2 separate regions of the Homo sapiens genome follow, and region 1 is linked to region 2. The links are contacts of gene promoters, found by promoter capture Hi-C in blood cells and fetal thymus (Javierre and others, 2016). All regions are on one chromosome and are shown on one strand. Each heading gives the region's core, a stretch centred on a gene start or on the middle of the fragment in contact. The rest is flanking DNA. Distances are from core to core; before and after follow the strand shown.

Region 1 (4,583 bases), core at 427-2,926, 250 kb after region 2:
CCACCAGGGGATATGTGGAATCAGTTGATTCACTTACTTGTGATCATCTCTCCACGCACAGGTGGGCTTCTGGCCTCTCACAGAGTCTGAAGCATGAGCTGCCTCAGATCTATTGGAAGCAAATGGGATAGAAATCTAAGAAAAGCAAATGTGAAATTACTGATGTCTGATCAAGCAGGCAATACATTTGACTTGGTGTTTCAAAATAAAGTCTCAGTTTTTGTATAGGTGGGGTGGTGTATACTTTGCCAAAGAATCTTATGTGAAAGGACCAATTCTCACCCAAGTTTGAAAGGTTTGGTTTCGTGTTTGGTTTTTGGTTTTGCTCACTCTCCCTCTACGTCTAAACACCTTAGGAGTCCTGTCACTTACACTTTTTGGGCCTCAGCTGGCCTGTTGTTTCTGTTTGTTACTTTGTTTTTATCATTTTCCTCCTGTAGTGTGTAGAGGAGAATGTTGTGAAGGCATGGATCTTTTCCATTGAACGACCTGAATTTCGGTCTGTAATAACTAACTCCTGAAGAAAGTGCATCTTCTGTGTCTTGTGTCTCTATGTTTTAGTCCTGCTTGTTGCTAAATGAGACAACAGAAAACTGAAGACTGCATTTCTAGAAAGGTTTCAGAGAAAGGCTGTGTTTTGATTTAGAACTGGTTTTTTTGTTTTTTGTTGCACAAAAACAAACCTCTCAGGCCCTTTAAAAAAAAAGAGAGAGAGAGGTGTGGCCTCCCTATGTTGTCCAGGCTCCTTGGGAACTCCTGGACTCAAACAGTCCTCCTGCCTTGGCCTCCCGAAGTGCTGGGATTCCAGGCGTGAGCCATTGCACCCGGCTGACATGCAAGTTCTGAGGAAAGCCAGGCTGTCTTTCTTGAGTCACGGAGTAGTTGTCTTCATGACATGTTGATACCAGGTGATAATGGTCAGTGAAAGAGAGAGGTTAGTCCTTTGTATTAGGTGGCATCCTTCCCTCACACCCAAGCTGCAGGCCCAGCGTAGGAATGGGACCTCCACAGCCACACAGGTCTCATCCTGTGTGGCTGTGAAGGTCGCTATATGACTCTGGAGGTAGCTATGTGACTATGGAGGTCTCGTCCCGTGTGGCTGTGGAGGTCGCTGTGTGACTGTGGAGGTCACGTCCCATGTGGCTGTGGACATCTTGTCTGTGTGGCTGTGGAGGTTGCTGTGTGACTATGGAGGTCTCGTCCTTTGTGGCTGTGGACGTCTTGTCTATGTGACTGTGGAGGTTGCTGTGTGACTGTGGAGGTCGCGTCCCGTGTGGCTGTGGAGGTCACTGTGTGACCATGGAAGTCGCGTTCCGTGTGGCTGTGGAGGTCGCTGTGTGACTATGGAGGTCTCTCTCGTCCGTGTGGCTATGGAGGTCTGTGTGGGAGTATGGAGGTCACATCCCGTGTGGCTGTGGAGGTCGCTGTGTGACTGTGGAGGTTGCTGTGTGACTATGGAGGTCGCTATGTGACTATGGAGGTCGCTGTGTGACTATGGAGGTCTCATCCATGTGGCTGTGGAGGTCTCTGTGACCATGGAGGTCACGTCGCATGTGGCCGTGGAGGTCGCTGTGTGACTATGGAGGTCACGTCCCATGTGGCTGTGGAGGTCGCTGTGTGACCATGGAGGTTACTGTGTGCCTATGGAGGTCGCTATGTGACTATGGAGGTTGTTGTGTGACTATGGAGGTCTCGTCCATGTGGCTGTGGAGGTCTCTTTGTGACTATGGAGGTCACGTCCCATGTGGCCGTGGAGGTCTCTGCGTGACTGTGGAGGTCACGTCCCGTGTGGCTGTGGAGATCTCTGTGTGACTATGGAGGTTTCATCCATGTGGCTCTGAAGGTCTCTGTGTGACTATGGAGGTCGCGTCCCATGTGGCTGTGGAGGTCGCTGTGTGGCTATGGAGGTCGCGTCCCGTGTGGCTGTAGAGGTCGCTGTGTGACTATGGAGGTCTCGTCTGTGTGGCTGTGGAGGTCGCTGTGTGACTATGGAGGTCGCGTCCCATGTGGCTGTGGAGGTCGCTGTGTGACTATGGAGGTCTCGTCCGTGTGGCTGTGGAGGTCGCGTGTGTGACTATGGAGGTCTCGTCCATGTGGCTGTGGCGGTCTCTGTGTGACTATGGAGGTCTCGTCTGTGTGGCTGTGGAGGTCTTTGGGTGACTATGGTGGTCACGTCCCATGGTCCCATGTGGCTGTGGAGGTCGTGTGTGACTATGGAGGTCTCGTCCACGTGGCTGTGGAGGTCTTTGTGTGACTATGGAGGTCACGTCCCATGTGGCTGTGGAGGTCGCTGTGTGACTATGGAGGTCTCATCTGTGTGGCTGTGGAGGTCTTTGTGTGACTATGGAGGTCACGTCCCATGTGGCTGTGGAGGTCTCTGTGTGACTATGGAGGTCATGTCCCACAGCTCCATGGCCTTCCTTGTTCTGTCTTCCACATCTGAGAGCAGGGATTGCCCTTATCCGCAGTGAGCATTTTGTTTAAGTAGCAGTGAGTTCACTCCAGGCAATGCTTTGACACTATAAATAGACGTGTATTTGACATTCACACACGTGTCTGTTGAGCTAATACAGACAATCATTTGATGAACCTGCTAGTTAGGAAGTAGCTGTGATGTGAGAAGAGACAGTGCTGGCTGTAGATATACACCAAATTTCCTCACTTGGCTGTTGATACAAGGAAAGCATCTTGATACTAATAGGAGTAGAATGCAAATGATACTTCTCTACCTCCGATCATTGGATTACATTCCTTTTCTCTGGGGTGAATCTTTAAAATGCTAATGGCCTGAGTGCACCAACATGAAGCACACAGTACCATCTGATTAGTTGCTTTATGCATCCAGAGAGGGTATTTCTAAATCTCAAAGTATGATTGAGTGTCAAAAATCCATTTGGGGGAGGGGCAACTCCTGTGTTGTGCTGCTTCTATAACAGCACAAAAAAGTCTTCCAGTATGTTCCTGCCAGCAAGGAGTTGGCAGGGCGGGGAGAAACAAAGGCTGTCGCCTTTCCAGTGATGAGTGCCTGTAATATGAAGCCGGGAGTCCTGACTCAGCACCTACAGCAAACCTGGGTTACCCAGGGCTTGCCACTTGTTTTGAGAGGTTCTTAAATTCTTAATTTTAAAAACAAAGTAAATTGCAGTATGACTCATATGAATAGTAAATGTGCACCAAATAGGACACATAGGAGGCAGAGTGGGTTATAAAATATTTAGTCATTTGCCACAACCAGGAAAAGATGGTTTTAAGGATATTGGTTCTTGGTCTAGGAATTAAAACATCCAGAAAATGGTCCTAAGTTACTGTTGATTTTTGCTGAAGAAAATACATTTTCTTCATGTGTTATATAAAAAACTTACTTTGTAATAATTATGTTTGTGGGATTCACTAATGTTTAACTACTGGAGCAAAACCTTTGTCGTAAAGTTCTCTTGGTTGTTTGAGGAGACAAAAGGATGGCAGATCTTTGACCAAATTATGAAGATATGGAATTCAAAGGGATGGAATTGAAGAGTTTGAGAAAGGAGTTAAAGTAAATACAGAATGTGGGTAGGAATTCCGTTTCTATAGTAAGACAAAATGTAGGGGGAAAGTTTGTATTTCTTTGTTATTATGCTGATAATAAGCTTGCTAGAAAACAGGATTATAATTAAAAACAGGATTATAATTATTCCACATCCTCTTTTGATCTTTGTAAATATGCATGTATTTTATATGGTAGTAATCACTGTATGTATTTAACTTTGGTTAATATGTAGCAGCTCTCCGATATTTAGTATTGGAATTATTAATACTTGTGTAAGTATTAGTAAAATGAATAGCTTTATAACTTTAATTTACCTTTTTTCCTAGGGGTATATTGTATCCTAATTAAATTCAGATTATTTATCTAAAGTGTTTTTATTCTGTATATCCCCACATTTTTCGAACCCCACATTGGTTCAAAACTTGTTAGAAAAACCATATTTCTGTTTATAATATTTCATATTGGAATTGAATGAGTTTAAGTTTTTGTACCTAAGATTGGAAAGGAAATTTTATTAGAACTGGTAAGAATGTACAAGCATTGTTTCTTTGAGGTGAGTAAAAATATTGTGAGAAAAAATTTTCTGCTTCAAAAAATGGTGTCAGCTGGGCACGGTGGCTCATGCCTGTAATCCCAGCACTGTGGGAGGCCGAGGCGGACAAATCACCTGAGGTCAGGCGTTTGAGACCGGCCTGGCCAACATGGCGAAACCCCTCCTCTACTGAAAATACAAAAATTAACCTGTGCGTGGTGGCAGGTGCCTATAATCCCAGCTACTCGGGAGGCTGAGGCAGGAGAATCGCTTGAACCCGGGAGGTGGAGGTTGCAGTGAGCCAAGATCCTGCCTTTGCACTCCAGCCTGGGTGACAGAGCAAGACTCCAACTCAAAAAAAAAAGATTTCTTCTTGTATTAGGGGTGTTCACAGAATAAAAAAGAAAGTTTATTAATTAAACAAACTGAAGTGAATTACACATCTAGCCTGCAGAAAAATAAATAGGAAACAATACAGTCTGGCCTGTGTCACCCAGAAAAAGCTCAGTTTGGATTGAATCA
Region 2 (4,781 bases), core at 1,838-4,337:
TCCAGTCTCTACCCTCTCTGATACCCCTCCCAAGACATGGAGTGAGGCTGTGCAGGAAACACCTATGCCTGCCCTTCTGTGGCCGGGGCCACTGTGCCACTCCATAGCCCTGCTCCCCTAGCCTCGGGGTTGGCTCTGGGAGCCTGGCCCTGCCTGCTCCAGCTCCCATTTCTCACCTCCGCTTTGTGGCTGATCATCCAGAAAGGTCGCCATGAGGATGTTTGGTATCCAGGTGTCGCTTTACCTTCAGCCTCCCTCCTGGGGCGCCTCTGGTTCCCGGGAGAGAGGCCGAGCCAGGGATGGAAAGAAGCCCATCCCTTGGGACACACGGCTTGGGACCTTACCTAAGTGTCCTGGGTCTACCTGTCGGGAACTCTGTGGATGCCATTCCCCTCACGACACTACAGGCGTCCCCGATGCAGACACCACAGGTCTGCATCTTTGTGCCTCTGTGTGGCCTGGGGCAAGTCGCTGAACCTCTCTGCATATTCTGTAAAACGCGAAAAACAGTGCCTTCTCCCAGCTCTCTGTAAAGACCAATAGTTTACAGCATGGGGAGCACTCTGGCAGGTACCTGGAGCGCCTAGTGCTCCCTAATGCCAGGTGTAATGGTGACAATCGTTCTTTAGGCAAGTATTAAATGATGTTTATGGAAAGATGGCATCATCTGTGCTATAATTTAAGGCAGAATAAAGACTAGACAGAGCTAGAGAGAGACTTAGCTGAACAAATCAGCTCCTGAAATTGTGGGTGTTGGAAGGTCCAGGGGCAGCTGGGGACTGGGGAGAGTTGGGTTGCAGTCCAGGCTGTCTGGGAGCAGAGCTCCCTCTTCCTCAGGGAACCTCTGTCTTTTTCTCTCAAGCCCCTTGATAGATTGGGTGAGGCCCACCCACGTTATGTCACACACCTTACTCAAAGTCTACTGATATAAGTGTCAATCTCATCTAAACATACCTTCACAGAGACATCTAACCTAGCATTTGACCCAATATCTGGGCACGGTGGCCCAGCCAAGTTGACAAGTAATAAAGCCAATGACCACAGAGACCAAGGGTCTCCACCCTGGTGCCCCAACATGACATGGTGCCAGCCAGAGGATATTGGCCAGGGGACAGAGTGGATGGCACAGGGTTGAGGAAAGAAGCCAATAGCATGTGTGGAGATGCCCAAGGGGTGAAGAGGGAGATCGGAGAAGCGGGACAGGCCAGAGGGTGTGGCCCTTTCCTTTCATCTTGCTTTTAAGATGCAACAGATTTCAGCAGTGTTTCTCAAAGTGTGGACCAGCACATTCAACATCCCAGGAAATTTTGCTAGAAATGCACATCCTCGGGCCCCATCCCAGACCTCCTGGATCAGCAAGGAGCCATCAGAGCCCAGCTGTGTGAGCTTAACAAGTCCTCGGTAGATCCTGACGCAGCCCAAGGCTGGGCAGGCTGGAGGGCACCTGCATGCCAGGAGAGCGGCCGGGAGAAGAGGGCAGGTGCTCAGAGGGAGTGTGGCCTAGGGCCGTGTGGGCTGAGGACCAGGGAGGGTGTTGTGCCTTAGACTAGTGGAAAGGGCAGGGCCTGCATTTCAGGACCCTTCTGCCTGATGACAGGCTTTCCCTGAAGCTGGAGGGGCAGGGTTGGGGTGGGGGGGCGGTGGGGGATGGGGAGTGGTGAAGGTTCCCTGAACTGACAGGGAATGAGAGGAGCAGACCCATTTGAGGGCACTTTTTGCAGACCATGTGTAGACAGGAGGTAGCAATTGTGCCGCCGTAGGCACCCTGGGCAGCCCAGGGAACGCTTGTCCACAGAGGGAGAGGCTCCCATCCACTCTGAGGCCTTTCCAGAGTTCTCCTTTCACTGGTCTCCAAAGAGATTCTGTAGAACCAAGTGAAACTGCTGATACTCAATACGTTTCTCATGTTAAACAAAAACAAAAACAAAGCAGCCATTTCTTACAGATTTATTCAATACTTTCTATCTGGTTATTATGCCTCTTATTCTGTAATTATTTTTTATTATGAATTATTTATTTCCAGATCTGTCTGGCCTATAAGGCCTGTAGGCACTATAAGGGGGAGTACTGCGTCACCTTCATCTTTTTATCCCTTTGGCCTTGCTCCGTGCCTGAAAGCTCACCACACTGGAACGTCCAGGTGCACATGTGCCACTGGACACCGGGATGTTGCCGGATGCTCTTTTGGACGCTGGAATGCTGGTGCATTGTTGCCGGATGCTGGAATGGTGCACGCACGCTCTGTTGGACGCTGGAATGCTGGTGCATTGTTGCCGGATGCTGGAATGGTGCACGCATGCCCTGTTGGACTCTGGAATGCTGGTGCATTGTTGCCAAATGCCGGAATGGTACACGGATGCTCTGTTGGACGCTGGAATGCTGGTGCATTGTTGCCGGATGCTGGAATGGTGCACGCATGCTCTGTTGGACGCTGGAATGCTGGCGCATGTGCACATGTTATTGGCATGAGCTGTAGTTCAAACCTCAGCCATATGATGCTTGAATTCCCAAACCATTCGTGGAAATGTGTACTTCTTCCTGCTGGAATTCTCTCTCTCTCTCTCTCTCTTTTAACTGATTGGGGAGTGAGGTGGGGGGGGGGGTCTTGCTACATTGCCCAGGCTCAAACTTCTGGGCTCAAATGATCCTCCTGCTTCTGCCTCAGCTTCTGCCTCGGCCTCCGGAGTAGCTGGGACTACAGGCCTGAAATACTGTTTCTTTAAGGAAGGGCATGTTACCTATAATACCAAACCACAAAAGGATAGCTGCGGTTTTGGGCGAGGAGAGCTCAGAGAGTTTCTTGCATATGGCCCTGTGATGGCGGCCATGGCCCTGCATAGACACGAGCTGGAATCTGCAGGTGGCAGCCAGGACGCTGCGTGTGTCGAGTGCACAGTGTGGCTTGGTGCCAACCATGGCGAGGGTGGAGAGCCCCGTGCCTGCAGCGCGCGCTTCCCTCACTGGGTCCTGCGTCCTTGGGCAGGCGATGCCCCTGCGGGGAGGGGCTGGTCCATCCCCGGCCAGCCACGGACCCACGCATGGACCCAGCGACCCACGGACCTGCTTACCTGGGCGCGGCGCGGGTGGCATGCGGCCACACGGAAGGGGCGCGCTGGGCTGCTGCGGCCTCTGCAGCTTCTACACCTGCCACGGGGCGGCCGGAGGTAAAGGGAGGCGGCGGCCAGGCGCGGCCCCGCGGAGGCAGCTGCACTCGCTCGGTCCACTCGCGGCTTCGCGGCTGCCCGCAAACCAGGAGGGCGTGGAGACCCGGAACCGGGGGGAAGGGCGGGGGCACTTGTGCGGCACCCGCGGGGCTCCCAGGGGACCTCGGCGGTGACACGAATTTCTAGGTGACCTTGGCGGTGACACGAATTTCTAGGTGACCTGTGTGATACACTAGGTGACCTAGTGACACAGGTGACACTTCCAGGTGACCGCGGCGGTGACCCGCGGGGCTCCCAGGTGACCTCGTTGGTGAGCCCCGGGGCTCCCCGACGACCGCGGCGGTGACACGCGGGGCTCCCAGGTGACCCCGGCGGTGCACTCACAGGACTCCCAGGTGACCCGCGGTGGTGACACACCGGGGCGGGCGCGCGCCGCTTCCGCTTCCGCCGAGCCGCCCCCCGCCCCCCGCGGCGCAGCGCGCGCCCCCCTCCCGGTGGCGCGGAACCAATCCTGGGCAGGGAGGCGGCGGCTGGAGGCTGAAAGCGCTGCCGTGGCCCCCTCCCCGCCTCCGCCGCGCCCCCTCCGCACTCGCACGGCCCCACCCGCAGGCGCCCCCCGTGCGGAGGAAGCGGATCTGCCAGGATCATTTTTGTTGTGTCGGAGGATGAGGTTTTGGCTGAGGACTGAAGAGATGGCCTTGGAAGAAATGGTGCAGAGATTAAATGCGGTTTCCAAGCACACGGGTAGGAGGAGCTGCTGGCCGTCAGTGATCTGTGCTTAAGCTTGACATCATGGGCTGAAATGTGGGGAAATGCGTCTGATTTTTGTAAGCCGCCCTCGTGTTCCTTTCTAGCCGTGGTAGCTGTGACATGGGGGGCACTGGTTGGCAGCTGGTGTGTTTTCAGAGGCTGTCGGCGATCGTATGCTGCCCGGGATAGTCAAAATGACTGCACGTTGGTGACACTGGCTCTCTCAGGGTTGCTGGGTCTGCATGCGGAGCCATTTGTGTGTCTGAAGTCTGCCCATCAACCTGCCTGTCCGCAGCCCTCGCAATGGAGAATGCATTGCGAATGGAGAATGATCTGAGCCAAGGGCTTTCAGAGCTTGGGGTTTCAGAGCCAGGGGTAGGGATGGTGAAGCTACCTGGAAGCTCGTTTTGAGGATGAAAAAACCTGGACTAATCAGGTGGTTCTTTTCTTCATTAAATGCAATTTAAACCTAAGACAGATGTTTGAGACGGTATGGGTAAAGAGTGGACTGGACGTTCATTTTCAGTATTAATCGAAATATTACTTCAAATAAGCTTTGAAGAGTAGTTCAGATCGATTCTTTTAGGTGTAAGCAGAGACTGGGCTGACAGCTTGCATCTGGCCGTGGCTTTCAGGCGGTCGCATCTGAGTTCTCAGGCTGTGTTATGCAGAAGGGAGAGGCATCCTTAACTCGTTTTCCTTGAAATGAAGAGGAAATAATGATATATCATTAAAAGTAAGTTGCCAAGTGTTTTGCCTGATGTTGCCATATGTTATGTCATATATGCCATTACTAGTTGTCTAACTAGTACTTGCCTGGGAGATTAAAATGTCAGTTGCTTGGTTTGGGTGTGGTTCTCTTTCTCT

What was found. The method cuts DNA at HindIII sites, captures the fragments that hold promoters and counts their contacts. A CHiCAGO score of 5 or more calls a contact.
Region 1: a contact is called between a fragment that was not itself captured here and the fragment with the promoter of MCF2L-AS1 in region 2, in 5 of 17 cell types (naive CD8 T cells, total CD8 T cells, total CD4 T cells and 2 more). The highest score is 10.2, in naive CD8 T cells.

The regions. Positions count from the first base shown.
Region 1 is chr13:113,213,823-113,218,405 of GRCh38, forward strand. All of the region lies in intron 2 of CUL4A (cullin 4A), which reads left to right. Among named protein-coding and RNA genes, the nearest start is that of CUL4A, 6.5 kb to the left of the region's middle. The HindIII fragment of the contact is 3,901 bases long and covers 1-3,627 here.
Region 2 is chr13:112,965,551-112,970,331 of GRCh38, forward strand. It overlaps MCF2L-AS1 (MCF2L antisense RNA 1), which reads right to left and starts at 3,088. Exons shown (of 1, transcript NR_034002.1): 1 at 1,934-3,088. MCF2L (MCF.2 cell line derived transforming sequence like) reads left to right here and starts at 3,664. Exons shown (of 30, transcript NM_001112732.3): 1 at 3,664-3,908. The coding sequence starts at 3,830. RefSeq lists an enhancer at 2,819-3,338 and a silencer at 3,540-3,599. The HindIII fragment of the contact is 5,254 bases long and covers 1-3,945 here.